Regions from separate parts of the Homo sapiens genome. Here region 2 is linked to region 1. Evidence: promoter capture Hi-C in 16 types of primary human blood cells and fetal thymus (Javierre and others, 2016). All regions are on one chromosome and are shown on one strand. Each heading gives the region's core, a stretch centred on a gene start or on the middle of the fragment in contact. The rest is flanking DNA. Distances are from core to core; before and after follow the strand shown. Region 1 holds the start of NAV2-AS3 (NAV2 antisense RNA 3). Region 2 overlaps NAV2 (neuron navigator 2).

Region 1 (7,280 bases), core at 2,874-5,373:
CTTTGTTAATTACAGGAAAAAATCTGACTTGAGCTAGAACCCTAGTGGAAGGCCTTTTAACATCCCTGATATAAATCACAAGCCTGGGCACTGGGGGGACTCTAAGGAGGACACATTCAAGTTAGTGGTAGAGACTGGGCCAGATCCCAAGTTCCTAACAACTCATTCAGTGTTTCCCAGCCTTCCCTGAGAGAACATGAAGATTCTTCTTCAGCAAATTCCATCTCTGGGTGTGATTTCAGTATCTGTCTCTTTGGTGTGCTGTCCTATTTCTCTAAAGCCACACAATTACAGAAGTCACTTAGCTCTTTGTAAAAAGCATGCCCTGGGAACAGCAGGAAGCTGTTGTTGTGCTACTATTTGGCTTTCTGACATAAAAGGTTTAGTACCCAAAAAGTCTATGGTCATTTTAAACCACTTGCATCTAAATTCCATGTTACATCTCATCAACCCAGATGTGGAAAGAAGTCAAGTGTTCCAGCAAATCCTTAAACAGCCAGATCATTAAGGGTATTTGAAATCTGCACTGAAATCCAGAATTATAGAACATTAGAACTGGAAGGGATCATAGAAATCATATAGTCCAAACTCCTCACTTCATCGGTTGCTCAGGGTCATAGAATCAGTTTGTCAGAGTAAGAACTAGAACCTGGAGGCCAAATAGTCCTCTTTTATTACCACAGTATTTTCTGAACCTCTTTTCTTCCCTGACAGCAGTGGCAGTGACGCCTGATCAACCTCTATGATGTCAACTACTTAGCATGTGGTGTCTAAACCCATGTCCTTAAGCATTGCCTCCTATTACCATGCAACAGGAGGCTTTTTGGTGAAGGCTGCTCAGCCAAGGCTAGGAGAGATCCCTTCTGCACACAGACCTTCTGTGCCACAAGGTGCAATACCTAGAAAGCTGGCTAATGAGAGAGGAAGTAAAGCACATCCCTAGGGCCTGCTGAACTGACAAAGACACAGTAGCAACAAGCAAAACAATAACCAAAACCACCCAAGCCTGAACTCCCTGTGTTACTGCTGTCAGAAGCACCACCCTACACAGAAGCAGGACTCAAGAACCCTCGGCAGCCCTTTCCTACCTACTGTACCTGCTCCTAACCCCAGGTACAGATTCCAGGCCTCCCCTCCCTCTCTGTGGGTTCAAGTCTCCATTCACTCTCCCAATATCATAACCCTCATTTCTCAGGGCCCCCCTGGGATCACCTCTGCATCTGACCAGCCCCAAGTGCAGCAAGCTTACCTGTCAGCGTCTCCGAGGCCCAGGGAGGTATTTCGTTGCAGGGTCTCCCGTACCACAGCCATCCCATCAGGGAGCCGGTTCAGGCGACGGGTATAGAGGCCAAGTCCACCATCAGTCATGTATCTTTAAAAGGAGAAGAAGATGATGCACATGAATGTCCAAAGCAAGTGGCTTCCAGGCTTGCATTCATATCCAGAAGCCTGTACAGCCGCCAAGTGCTCTAAGGGGGAAGAAACGGAGGATTCCCTGAGGCTCTGGCACTGATCACAGCCCAAGGATAACTCAGCTGCTGATCCAACCTAGAGGATCCCCAGCTCGCTAACAAAAAGGTGAAAAAAGAGAGCGAACTCAGCTTAATTAACCCAAACTCACAGGTACCTACGACGCAGACGGGAACTAGGGAATAAAATTAACTGTCACATGGATTCATGACATTCTTTTCAATGTCAGCGATTATACAAGCAGGTGTTTTACCTGAGTAACGGAAATGGAACTGACAAATCATTAGCAAATCATAGGCAATAATATTACAGAACAGTGAGTGGAAAAAGCAGGCAGGCTTTTGAGAGAGGGGGAAAGAAAGGAGAGAGGATAGATGAGTGGCCTTTGCCATCACAGGCGAGTCCCTTCCCTGGATGGTGAGTTTTTCACCCAGGCTATAGGACTATCACGGCCTGTGACATGTGGGAATATCACAACATGGGCATGAGAATTAGTGAGATAAGGAATATGAAAGTGCACTGAAATTTGTGTAAGGCTATATAAGTGGAAGACATTACGGTTGTCACGATCATGAGGTGAATTTCACCCTTGATACTGATGTTTTCAGGGGGTTGCCACAAAACTCTGAACAACACTAATGCTAGTTTATTCTTTTTTTGGTAATACTACAAAGCTGTCTTCTGATGAAATCAGTGCTGTTCTTGAGAGGGAGGATGTCTGGAACTTTCTGTACAGATGGCTGATTGTCTACCAACCAGACAAGTTCCTGAAAGCTTAGCCACTAGTAGGAGGTAGCTCAGTCCAAGGCAGCTGTACCTCATATCTACCTTGGCTTCCTCACAGCCCCCATAAAGGAGACTGGTTTTGTCATTTCCCTCATCTTCAGAGGAGAACAGGAAGGCAAAGCAAAACTTGGGCAGAGCCAGAAACCAAACTTGGATCCCTTCAATCCCTTATGGGCCCCATCAGATCACCCTGCAAGGTATCTGAAAATGCAAGCATTTTACATTTCAAATCAAGTAATATGTAGTAAGAGGACCAATGAGTCATTATTTTTCTGAAACAGGGTCAGCTGAGCTACGTCATGGAAAGCTTAATTGCACTTGCCATTTTAACTTTTGCATATATGGAGTCGACCCTGAGGGTTCCCAATCCTTGAATTTCTTCTACCTGTAGCTGGGGACCTTTTTAGGATATATTTTTCAAGAACAGAATTATGAGATGCAGACGAGGCTGCCCAGACCAGGAAGTTCAAGTAAGGGGCAGAGAAGAAAATTCTCACTGGAGTTATCTCATGTGAAAAGCACCTTCCAGAATGGGTAAGAGGAACCCAGGAAGCTTCTAAGCTACTGTGGCTAAATTCAACACCTCCAATGTTCCCTGCTCCTCCCTTTATGACATTAATGATCCCCAAGGTCACAATATCAACATAATGAGAAATCTGTTGGAGTAAATCAGACTAAGTGTTTGTGCTTGTGCTGAAAATGCAACAGAAGAGACTGAAGTTTTCACTCAACTTTATCATTTTAAAAACCACTCTGTGAATACATTAAAAACCATCAAATTGTATGCTTTAAAATGGTGAATTTTTAGCCGGGCACGTGGCATGCACCTGTTGTAGTCCCAGCTACTTGGGAGGCTGAGGCAGGAGAATCACTTGAACCCGGGAGGTGGAGGTTGCAGTGAGCCGAGATCGTGCCACTGCTCTCCAGCCTGGGCGACAGAGTGAGATTCCGTCTCAAAAAACAAAACAAAACAAAACAAAAACAAAAACAAAACAAAAAAGAAAACCCCAAAAATAAATAAATAAAATGGTGAATTTCATGATATATGAATTAAATCTCAATAAAAATATAAAAAATGATTACAGCTATAGTTAAATAATTATTTGTTTAATTGCCCTTCAATGCATGTCTCTCACACTAAATAGTAAGCTCTTTGCAGGCAGAGATTCTTATTTTGTTCAAATCTATATCCCATGAGCTTAGTACATACTAGGTGCTTATTAAATGCTGTTTTTGTTGAATGAATGAACACATGAATGAATGAAGCCCAAAGACACAGCCATAGGGCTGTGCAAATTTTTTTTGCAAGAACACTGATTACAGGTTTTCTTTCCTCTTAAGCTTTAACAAACTTACATTTAAGACATATGACAAGCAAATTAAACTGTCGATCTGCCAATCTACCCATCATCCATCCATCCAGCCACCCTCCAACAGATAGAGTGACTCAGGGTAGAGTAATGGGTTATGGGCATCCATCCTACAGGTAGCACAAGGAGGAAAAAACACCTACACCAAAATGCCATAACTTTGCCAGAGGCTGGACTTTCTAGACCCCACGTCCTTTCAAGGAGAACTCAGTGGAAGCTCTTCAAAATACCATCTATTACACCATTAAGCAAGGCAGTTAATTTTGATCTTAGCCAAGTCTGCCCAGCCAGTTAGATAAACAAAATTCTTTCAACTGGGGAGATCTTGTCAAAGGACAAACAAACTAATTTTAGCATTCATTTCCCTGCTGGATTTTTATTGCTGGTGAAACAACACACACGGTTGGGTAATTACACACACACAGGCATGTAGACAAGGCCCACATGTACAGAACCCTGGCTTCCTGCTAAGGCCAGACTGTGGGGCCTGGTGAGCATTCCAGACACAGAATGCTGAGAAACGTTGCAGCCCCAGCCCAGCTACACCCGGGTGCAACGTGGATGTATCAGAAAACGACAACCCCAGAAAAGCGGGAAAGCCTCTGAGAAATGGGACTGAAATGGAACTGAACATGTGAGCTGGGCTTGCTGTTGGGAATTCTGACTTTGTTTTGGCAGAGGGGAGGGGAAAGGCAAAGCTAAATCAGGATCTTCTGCCTTCTCAAACTGTAGGAAGAAATGAAAGTCAGGGAGGTGAATGCAACTAGTCTGACAATGATCTAGTTTCAAGACTGCAAGTCTATTTCACTTATCGTGCGCATGTAGAGGGAGGGCAGGCAGAGTGATAAGGAAAATGGGGAACTTACCTCTTCTTTTAGAGATATGTAAACACATGTTCAACTGTTTTTTAAACAACAATATTCTTTGAAATAAATTCTGTTGTATGTCTCTCCTTGGGAGACGGCACAGCACCAGAGACAGAGCTGTGGTTAGAGCCAGCCTCACACTCAAGAAATTAATTTAAAATGTTTCTAAATTATTATCCACCAATTACAATGATTTACAAACAGCTCTGTATATATTTTTAAATAACTCCTGTATTATACAGTCAATGAAAAATATACAAATTTGGGTTTGCTGGACCAAAATTTGTATAGGAATTGGCTATTGTATACATCAATATAGACTGCCTTAACAAAGTGAAGGCCTTAAGAAAGCATAATTTACAGATGAAGCAGCCACGGGTGTGTTTATCTGAAACACTGGCTTTTGCCCAGAAGTGTTAAAAAAGCTTGTGTTTCTGAAGGTTCAGGGAGCCAGAGGACTGATGGCCTCATCCTCCACTTGAGGAGCTTTTATAAGAGGCTCACACTGGGTGAAGAAGAAATGACTTGTCTGAGGTCACAAGCAAAGGAACCAGCTGATCCAAGAACTCAATCTCAGAACACCCATGCCACACTTTCCTTCTCCTTGGAGAGATAAATAATTAGTGCTGGAGCCTAATGAGGTGCTGGTAACATCCTAATGTCTTCTGAGTGGACTCTTGCCTCAGTTGCTAAGCTACTGAACCATCTCCCCATTACCCTCCCGAGTTCTGCCATGATAGGTGGGTGGAGGCGGCTCTCCGCATCCACCTTCTTAAGCTTCCCCAGAGACCCCTGGATGGAAAGAGTCAGAGCCTCTGCTAAAGGGACAAGGTGTCTGTGGGGTGTTTTTCTTGCTTCCCTGGGGTGGCCCATGAGCATCAGGGTTAAGGAACATGACTGTTGTTAGACCCAAGTTGTTCAAATGCCTTCTCTGCCCCTTGCTGGCTGAAGGACCTAGTATACATCATTGTTAGTAAGCACTAATGGTACTAAATGCTCACTGGGTACTGTGTTAAGTGCTTCACATAAATCATGGCATTCAACCTTCAAAATAATCTTATCAAGTGTTATTGTCATCTCTATTGTTCAGATGAGGAAAACAGAGCTGTGGTTAAGATCCCAGCGCAGGCAGGTGAGTTCAAATCCCAACTGTCGCATTTCAGCGCAATTTCTTCTAGTTTAAGTTCCCTCATAGGATTGTGGCAGGTTAAATGAGACAGTGCATATGTTTAGAAAGCCCAGTGCCTGGCATATAGGGAGCACTTCCTAATCATTAGCTGCTTACAGGAGTGGCAAGACCTAGTTCCTGCTCTGGTGAAGCTCAAAACCTACTAGGGACTAAGACATGCAAATAGCTCTACTGCTACATAAAAGTGGTATAACAGATGAATGCATGACTGGCTTTGAGAACACACGGGAGAAAGCGTCGCAGAGGAGTGCTGTTTAAGTTGGCCCTAAAGGGTGCGGAGGAGTTTGCCAGCCAAAAGAGGATCCATCTAGACACATGGATAACCTATGCAAAAGCAGAGAGAAATGGCAGAGGGGAAGGTATGTTCAGAGAAGGGTAAGTAGTTCACTATTGTTAGAACACTGGGATCACAGCTAGGAACTGGGCTGCATGGGACCTGGGGGATGGTTTTGAACATCTTGGATGCCAGGCCTCTGCCTGTAAGATGGGGGATACATGAAGGTACTAATGAGTAACAGGCTCTGGCTTCTGTTTCAAAGAGAACGTCGACTTTTCGATTCTTCCAACATTCTGTATTCAATTTTTGGTGGGCATTTTCTCATCAGTACTTTCTTCTACAGATTTTTCAGAACACACCATTTCCTAGTCCTGTCTGAGTCATCCCAGACCTCTGGGAGCTGGCCAGACTTGAAGGGTAGTCCTCACCATCCCTCCAGTCAAGACAGACCTGTGAAGGCAACATGCCTTTTACAAAAGGAACTTTCTCTACAGAATAGGTTGGTAACTGACACTAGCTATGAAAAAGCTGTGGAATCTAACAGGACCTGCTAGAACAAATACTCCAGACTTCAAGTCTAACATTTAGTAAACAGATTTCTTCCCTTTCTTTAAATGTAATGATGCAACAATGTGGAACCAAGTGAAACTGGCTTTGTGAGTCACCTTCAGAAGCGGCGAAAGGTGGCTTCTCATTTCCAAAGTTCACAGTTCAACATGGCCTGCATAAGTAATACAAACTGACTGCCACTAATCTCACCAGAAATCACCTCTGTCAAGAACTGTGTGAGGAGAGAGGGGACAGAGAAGGAAAGAAATACGTACCGACTTGCTCTAGTCGAGTGCATTTCTAATAGAGCATGACATAAAAAAAAAAAAAAAAAAAAAACCTCTCAGATGCAAGAAATGAAAGAACAAACAGAAAACAAATCAATCCTACATAATTACTTTTCTTCGAAGACACGTCAGCCTGTCTCTATTTTTTGGACACACTTTTGGTTGAAACGTGGACACAGAAACATGGAATAATTACAAATGTGTGTGTAATATTCCTTGCCAATAACAATATAAATATCTGGACGTATATATCAACACATACTTTGTTGCATTAGATTGAAAAAACTAATGGGGGCTGACGAAAAGCCCTTGTTGTTGAGCAATGTCATCAACATCCAGATCCCCAAACATCATATGCTTTCACAGGCCCCTCTACTCAGTTATAATACAGTGTGACATTCATTCTCTGAGTTTATTAGGATGCAAATCGAGTTTCTGGACAGACCTGGAAAAGAATCCCTTTAGTTTAGGGCCTCTGAGAAGACA
Region 2 (7,280 bases), core at 1,917-4,416, 130 kb before region 1:
TGAAAGCACGGTTTATTTGCTCCTAAGGTTTCCCTGTGTCGTAGCTCTGTAGTGCGTTGAACGTGACCAAAGCAAGCACCCTGGTTAGCACCAGTTCTCCCTGTGGCCGGCTGTGTGGGAGGGTGGGTGGCACGGCTCTGAGACCCAGTCTGGAGGGTCTGTGCTGAGGGGAAGCCGTGCTTCTCTGTGTTTCCGACTTTGCTCCAGTCTCTTCTGTCTCTGGGAAGCTCATGGCAGGATGCTGTTTGGTTTCAGAGCTTCATGTGGGTTCTCTTTTTTTTTTTCTCTCTGTCTCTCTTTTCATTTCAACGGCGATGATCCTTTCCCGAGAAGTATCTTCAGTGTCTTAGGGAGGTCACAGCAACAAGGCAAAACAATAATTAAAGTACAACAGAAGGTAGTGCAGTTCTCGCTGTGGAAGGAAGCGGTCCGCAGGCAGCTGGCCCGGGATGCCTGCACCCAGGTCGAGGCTGAAGGACGGGGGGTCTCGGTGTTCCCGCAGCTCTAAGGCTGTGGCTGGGGGCTGGCTCAGGAAGTCATCTTCAGGGTGATGTGGGGGATGCAGGTGGAATGCGGTGAGGAGAAGAGGAGGGCGCTGGGCTCCGGGCCCCTGTCACAGAGTGGACTCCAAAGAGGAGTCCAAGATGTCATCGTGATGGCTGTTGCTGTTGGAGTCGCTGTCATAGCTCTGGGGGCTGGAGTAGTTGGCTGCCTCCTGCAGCCTCATCAGCATGTTCATCTAGGGGAAGAGTGGAGAAGCATGAGCTGCTTTCTGTCTAGTTGGCCGCCCACCCTGGACTCCTAAAAGGTCATGCCACCTCCTCCAGACTCACCTGGGATAACAGCCCACAGTGGAGGCAGTGGACAAGAACATGGACTTTGGGCCAGGCTTCTAGGGTTCAAATCCCAGCTTCACCAATTACTAGCTGCATGACTTTGAACACATTACTTAACCTCTTTATACTTGTTTCTTTACTGGTCAAATGTGAATAATAATAGTACCTGCCCTATAATGTTATGGGTGGATTGAGTTAATATACGTAGAGCACTGAAAACAAAATGATGATCTCTATACATAGCTTATTTATTTTTTATTTAGGAGGGGCACACCTTTCAGGCCTAGCCCTCGGCCTGGATGAAGGTGTGGCTGAGCATCCCTGTTCCTGGAACTTGGCATCAGCATCACTGACATCGGAAGCACATGGACCCCCTCCCACTTCAACAAGCATCAAACCCATCTCTTCTCCTTGCTCTGGCCAGGTCAGACTGGAGCCAACTGTGCTGCAGCTCCTGTGGAAGCCTTGGCAGGGAGGTGAGGGGGAGCACCAGTTACAAGCAAAGGCTCCGAGTGCAAAGAGCCTTCGCTTATGATTCAGGAATCTCTGGGCAAGTTACCTAAGGTATCTGAGCCAGCAGTTCGTCATCTGTGGAATGGGGAGAATGGCAACACTTCTCATAGGGTTGAAGTAGGGAATAAAATGATATAATGTGTATTAAACCCTTAGAAAAGGGGCTGGCCTGGCATATAGTAAGCGCTTAATAAATGTCATCTGTTGTCATCATCATCTAACTTAAAAGAGTTTAGCGACAGTGTTCTTGAATCTGCCCTTGTTTACATACTACGGGTCACTTGTTTGGGAGTGGGAGAGGGAATAAAAACTACTTTTATTTATAACTGTAAATTGTGTGTATGTATTTTATATTTCATATAGGAAGTAAGTCAGGAATATGGGGCCTCTCTGAGCTAGGGCCAAGATGTGGTGCAGCTGGGCATACAATCCAGCTGCCCCTCAGGATGCTTTGCAGAGTCTACCCAGATGCGCCAGGCTGCAGAAGCACCATCATCTGGTGTCCATCTGCACAGCCATAACTAGGGAAGAGGCAGAGCTGAAGTATAATGGACAATCCTTGGCAACTGGGATTACTTATTCACTCATTAAACACTCCCAGTGTGTCCACAGTATATGGTTCTGGAACAAAAGCAAGTAAATTCTGTTTTCATGGAAGTCTCAGTCTCATGAGTGAGAAGGATTAATACAGAAGAGAGCTATGATAATAGAGACATATGGCCCTGGGCAGAAAGAGCAGAACTGAGGAGAAATACCAAATATCTAACTCGGTAATGGAAGTGGCTGGACTGGCACAGCTCACTTCTGGGGGCCTGGGGTTGGAAGGAGAAATCTGTTTCTGCATTTCCAAGAATCCTGGGTCTTACCTACACACCTTCTGTGTCCAACCAGTGATACAAATGTTACTGGCTCAGAAAAGATTGTTTAGGGATGGGCTGGCCATTCTTTCCTCTAAATATACTAAATTCTATTTTCTATGTAAGTTAAGACCTCATGAGTTTGCCCCTGCAAAAAATACCTCCGTGACTTTGGCTTTCAGCAATGGTTAACGTTGCAAACGGCTGTTTAAAGTATGCTTCTTTCCTTTGTAAGACTACTGTTATAAATATTGCAAACTAGGTTGTACATGGCAACACAAATAATAAATCCTTAAAAAATACAGTTCCCACTGCAATCTTCAACAGAACCACAGCTACATCCCACCAAACAGTAGGATGGCAGACAACCTGAATCGCCTATTAATATTATTATTATTTTTTTAATCTAGGGACTTAATTAGCTGCTAGGAATAGAACAGTAAATCAGTTGTCTTTTAATCCTGCTACATCTCTTATAATATTTTCTTTCATTAGGTAATGTAAATAATATTCTCTGTTATGTTTTCTTTTTGCTATGCCTGCCAAGAAAGCTTGGGGCTAAATTTAAGGCATGATAATAGTCCTTTAACCATGGGAGGTTTTGGTATATTTGCTTCCTTTTTATTTTACTGGGCTTTTGATTTGTTAGGTCTAATTTAGCAGTGTGACTCTGTGTGGGTCTTATATTGGTAGAGTACTACAATCGATTAGAAATACTACTGTTATTGGCCCGGGTGTTTCTTTTGTTTGTTTGAGACAAGGTTTGGTTCTATCAACCAGGCTGGAGTGCAGTGGCACAATCTTGGCTCACTGCAAACTCTGCCTCCCAGGCTCAAGCCCTCCTCCCACCTCAGCCTCCTGAGTAGCTGGGACTATAGGCATGTGCCACCATGCCCAGTTAATTTTTGTATTTTTTGTAGAGAAGAGGTTTTGTTACGTTGCCCAGGCTGTAACTGCCCACCAAAAGTGCTGGGACTACAGGCATGAGCCACCACACCCAGCCCGGGTGCTTTTTTTTTTTTTTTTTTTTTTTTGAGACGGAGTCTTGCTCTGTTGCCCAGGCTGGAGTGCAGTGGCGCGATCTCGTCTCACTGCAAGCTCCACCTCCCGGGTTCACGCCATTCTCCTGCCTCAGCCTCCCGAGTAGCTGGGACTACAGGTGCCTGCCACCACGCCCAGCTAAATTTTTATATTTTTAGTAGAGACGGTGTTTCACCATGTTAGCCAGGATGGTCTCGATCTCCTGACCTCGATCCACCCGCCTTGGCCTCTCAAAGTGCTGGGATTACAGGTGTGAGCCACCCCAGCCTGGGTGCTTCTTAAAGGGCCTTTATTGTTTTAGCAACAGCCGAATAAATAAGAAGCTTAAACAGTGTGAAAGACTTAGCTCATCTCAATGGCCATGGGACTCATATTCAGGCCTCCTCCCCTCTGTGAGTCCCTCCTGCCCTCAGACCTCTCCCTGTTTACCCTATCATTTGCCTTGGGCTTCTGGTCCTTAGCAATCTCTTCCTCTGCTCTGCTATCGGTAGGAGAGATCAAAGTAATAGGATAGTAGGTAATAGAGGTGGCATCCCAAATCAGAGGGCAAAGTGTTGTATAGAGACAGTAGGTATAAGAACATTTAAGGGGAAAAATCAATTCTTAATCTGTTATCTAATACCAGAAAAAAATTTCAGAGGAGAAGTTTTTAGTGAAAAACTAAAACCATGGAAGAAAATATTGGCAAAAATGGCCCAGTCATTTGGGTCCAGCCTTCCAAAGCAAGGCTGGATTTAGTCACCTTTGTATTTCCAGAGGCTCTGCATCATACCCAACACACAGTAAGTGCTAAAGGAATGCTGAGCTGCTCTGGTGGCTGAGGACTCACCAGCGGGTCACCTTCAGCATCACTGGGGGGCATCTGCTTGCTTGTCGATCCCTCCCGAGGCATGGAGTAGCCGTCGAAGCCGACATCCTCAGGCCGTAACTGCAGCAGGGGAGGCCACTCGTGCTGTTGTGGGCTGGCTGCCCATGGATATGTGTCCATCACCCACTTGGCAGGATCCTCCCAGGGGGCGCGCCTTCCATAGAGCTGAAAACAGGCAAAGAAGGAACAGTCTGGAAGTGGCCCAGATCTCTCTCGTAGCCCCAGTTTTGCAGCTTTCTGAAAAACTCCCCAAATCCAGCATCATGCCTTCCCTGATGGAGTAATTCCACTTCTATTCCATGCTCAGGAAGTCATCCAAGATGCAGACAGTTCGAGGTGCTAAGGCTGAAGGCAGCATGACCCAGTGGTCTAGAATACAGGCTTTGGAGTCAGGCTGATCTAGGTTCATGTCTCAGCTCTGCCACTGACTCACCGTGTGACCCTAAACTCTGAGCCTTGATAATCCAATTTGAAAAACTGGCTTTTGGGGAAAAACAATGACCTGATTTGAAGCATTTGCCAACATCCATGGTACAATCCCACCATGACTGACTTCAAACCACTGACATGATGTCACTGGATGTGGAGTTGGAAAAAGGTGCTATCAGCTTTCAAGAGCCAGCTCTAGTACTCCATTTGGTGCATCTACCCAAAGAATACTGCCTACATACCTTGGGTTCTGGGCACCAACACTGCAGGCAGAGGTCACAATGGCCCTGGCTTAATATTTACTTTGATTTTGTATTGAGACAAGGTTTTGCAATGTTGCTCAGGCTGGAGTATAGTGGCATGATCATGCTCCCTGTGGCCTCAATCTCCCGGGCTCAAGTGATGCTCCTGCCTCAGCCTCCCAAGTAGCTGAGACTACTTGTGTGCCACCATGTCTGGCTAATTTTTAAAACATTTTTTTTTAAGAGATGGGATCTCTCTATATTGCCCAGGCTGGTCTTGAACTTCTGGGCTCAAACAATCCTCGTGCCTTGGTCTCCCAAAGGTCTGGGATTATAGGTGTGAGCCACTGTGCTGGGCTGGTCCTGGCTCAATAAAACCCCGTTTCTTGAAATGGGTCTGACTCTTACAGCCCCTATATAGAAGTGCTACTCCTTTTCAAAACAGCAAATTGCTAACAGAGGTTGCACATAGGCAGTGAAATTATGAGGGCTTCTCTCTTGTCATGTATTTCTCAAAATTCCATAATAGCTAATTGGCTCTTAAAACAGTAAACTATATTATCACTTAATTTTATGGTAAGATCAACACCATGCCTCCAAGCTCCTTTTCTTAAGCCTCAATTATCTAATGGTAAAATGATTTTAGTGACCATTACTAGCAATTTCAAGAAATACATACATTCTTTGAAGAACAGAAACCTAGACTGGCCCAACACGAGGCTCTGTATATTACACAGCTAGGTATAGGCTTTATATTTTTCTCCTTTAACACCACCACATCTTCCAGCTGACTTTGTGCCAGGTACCGTGAGAAATGCTTTACGAATACCTTGCTTAACCACCGTGCAACTCCAAGAGGAAGTACTAATATCCGTGATTTACAGATGAGGAAATAGGCCCAGGGAGGAGAGAAGCCAGAATTGGAAACTAAGTATGTTCAATTCCACGGCCCACTAGTTTGGCCCACTTGGTCCATGTGGCAGGACATGCTCACAGCCAGGGCAGTGTCACCTGTAGTTCTGCAGAGAGGACTCTGCAGGGGGCCTTAGAGCACAGAGACTAAAGAGTCCTGTGGGCCACCACGGCTGCAGTGTGTCTCTAGGGTGGCCACGGCTGTCTGTCTGTCTGTCTGCTCTCCCTGCCCTCCCGCGAATCCTGCCGTGGAGAGGGTACAGAGAGCAAGGTGCTGACAACAGTGTGAAGCTGAGCTCTGAACCAACAAAACCACGTCTTTCCAAGGGGAAGGAGCTGGGGCCACCTAGCCCCACCCCCTCATTTACCAGATGGGCCAATCAAGGCCTGAAGAGCAGAGCCCGCTGAGAAAGGCTGTCAGGCAGAGCCCGATTTGAACCTAGAACCTCAGCTTCCTTTGCCAGGCCTTTTTCCTCTCCACCCCTCCTGACTGACACCACCTTGAACAACTCTGAGTCATGTGAGCCACGTGACTCAGCCAGACCCAGAGCAGGGAGACGCGGAGCAGGCTGTTGGCCAGATATCAGTGTGACAGCCTGCTGGGCTCATTGTCCCTGCCAGCAGTGCCCATACTCCCATGACTGTCTGTGCCATCTGGGACCTCTAGCTATGATTTCTGTCAGGGAAGCTGCCCACCCTGCCCCTTCTCAGATGGGCCCATCTCTCTGTATTCGTGGCTATCACCCCCTCTGCTTAAGTCATGCAGCCTCCTATGACTCATTGCCTTCCCAGACACCAGCACTCCTCCCGTCCTGCGCTCTGGCCCAGTCTGTTGCTAAGTCTTCCTTAACCTGGGGCAGGAGTGAGTCTCAGGCCTAGGAGCTCAGTCTGGCATTTGAAAAGCAATTATTGTGTGAGCAGGAAGGAATCGTGTGAGGGGCATGAGTTTGTGTGTATGTGGGCATGTGTCTCAGGGCAGAAGAGAATGCAAAAGTGGGATATTTGGAGCAGAAGAAGGCTGCTCCACATTAGAACCATTTGTGCAATTTTGAGAAGTTTCTCCCTCTGAGGTCTTTCCCTGTGGAAACTGGGCTGCATTTCCCAAGCCAGACCTCACATGAGGCTGAACCAAACCCTCACAGCTACTGCTTCTGTGACAGCTACTGCTTCTGTCTCCACTCTACAGCCTGGATGAGGACATGCTCAGGGCTGCAGAATCACAGAGGCTAGAACTCCTGGAGCTGAACATGTCCTCAGAGATTATCTGGCACCATGGTTTTCAAACATTTGCTCTTCATCTCTGGTCCTCAACTGAGTAGACTGGGGAACTTTTGGGCTTCATAGAAACCAGCCTGAAAAAACACTCTTCTAGTCCAAACTTGTCAATTTATAGATGGAGAACCCAAGGCCAAGAGACGGGAGACCTGTCTGGGGTCTCAGAGCAGGCTGGATAATCCGATAAATGGCCCCACACTGACTCTGCACTGTTCCTGTTCCCTGCAGGCACCAAGCCTGCCCTGGGCACAGAGAAAGGCCTTTTGAGTTACCCTGCAGACTTTAGACACTTTGGCAAGTGTTTCCA

The links. The method cuts DNA at HindIII sites, captures the fragments that hold promoters and counts their contacts. A CHiCAGO score of 5 or more calls a contact.
Region 2: a fragment that was not itself captured here is called in contact with the fragment with the promoter of NAV2-AS3 in region 1 in 1 of 17 cell types (erythroblasts); the score reaches 5.3 in erythroblasts.

What each region holds. Positions count from the first base shown.
Region 1 is chr11:19,978,217-19,985,496 of GRCh38, reverse strand. NAV2-AS3 (NAV2 antisense RNA 3) reads left to right here and starts at 4,123. Exons shown (of 2, transcript NR_174949.1): 1 at 4,123-4,260; 2 at 6,302-6,798. It overlaps NAV2 (neuron navigator 2), which reads right to left. Exons shown (of 38, transcript NM_145117.5): 11 at 1,250-1,372. RefSeq lists a silencer at 6,220-6,514 and an enhancer at 5,817-7,016. The HindIII fragment of the contact is 1,320 bases long and covers 3,600-4,919 here.
Region 2 is chr11:20,111,592-20,118,871 of GRCh38, reverse strand. It overlaps NAV2 (neuron navigator 2), which reads right to left. Exons shown (of 38, transcript NM_145117.5): 37 at 4,077-4,280; 38 at 1-739. The coding sequence ends at 614. It overlaps LOC107984418 (a long non-coding RNA gene), which reads left to right. Exons shown (of 3, transcript XR_001748477.2): 3 at 1,100-1,682. Among named protein-coding and RNA genes, the nearest start is that of DBX1, 45 kb to the left of the region's middle. RefSeq lists enhancers at 3,694-4,193, 4,194-4,695, 5,500-6,399, 6,400-7,280. The HindIII fragment of the contact is 813 bases long and covers 2,760-3,572 here.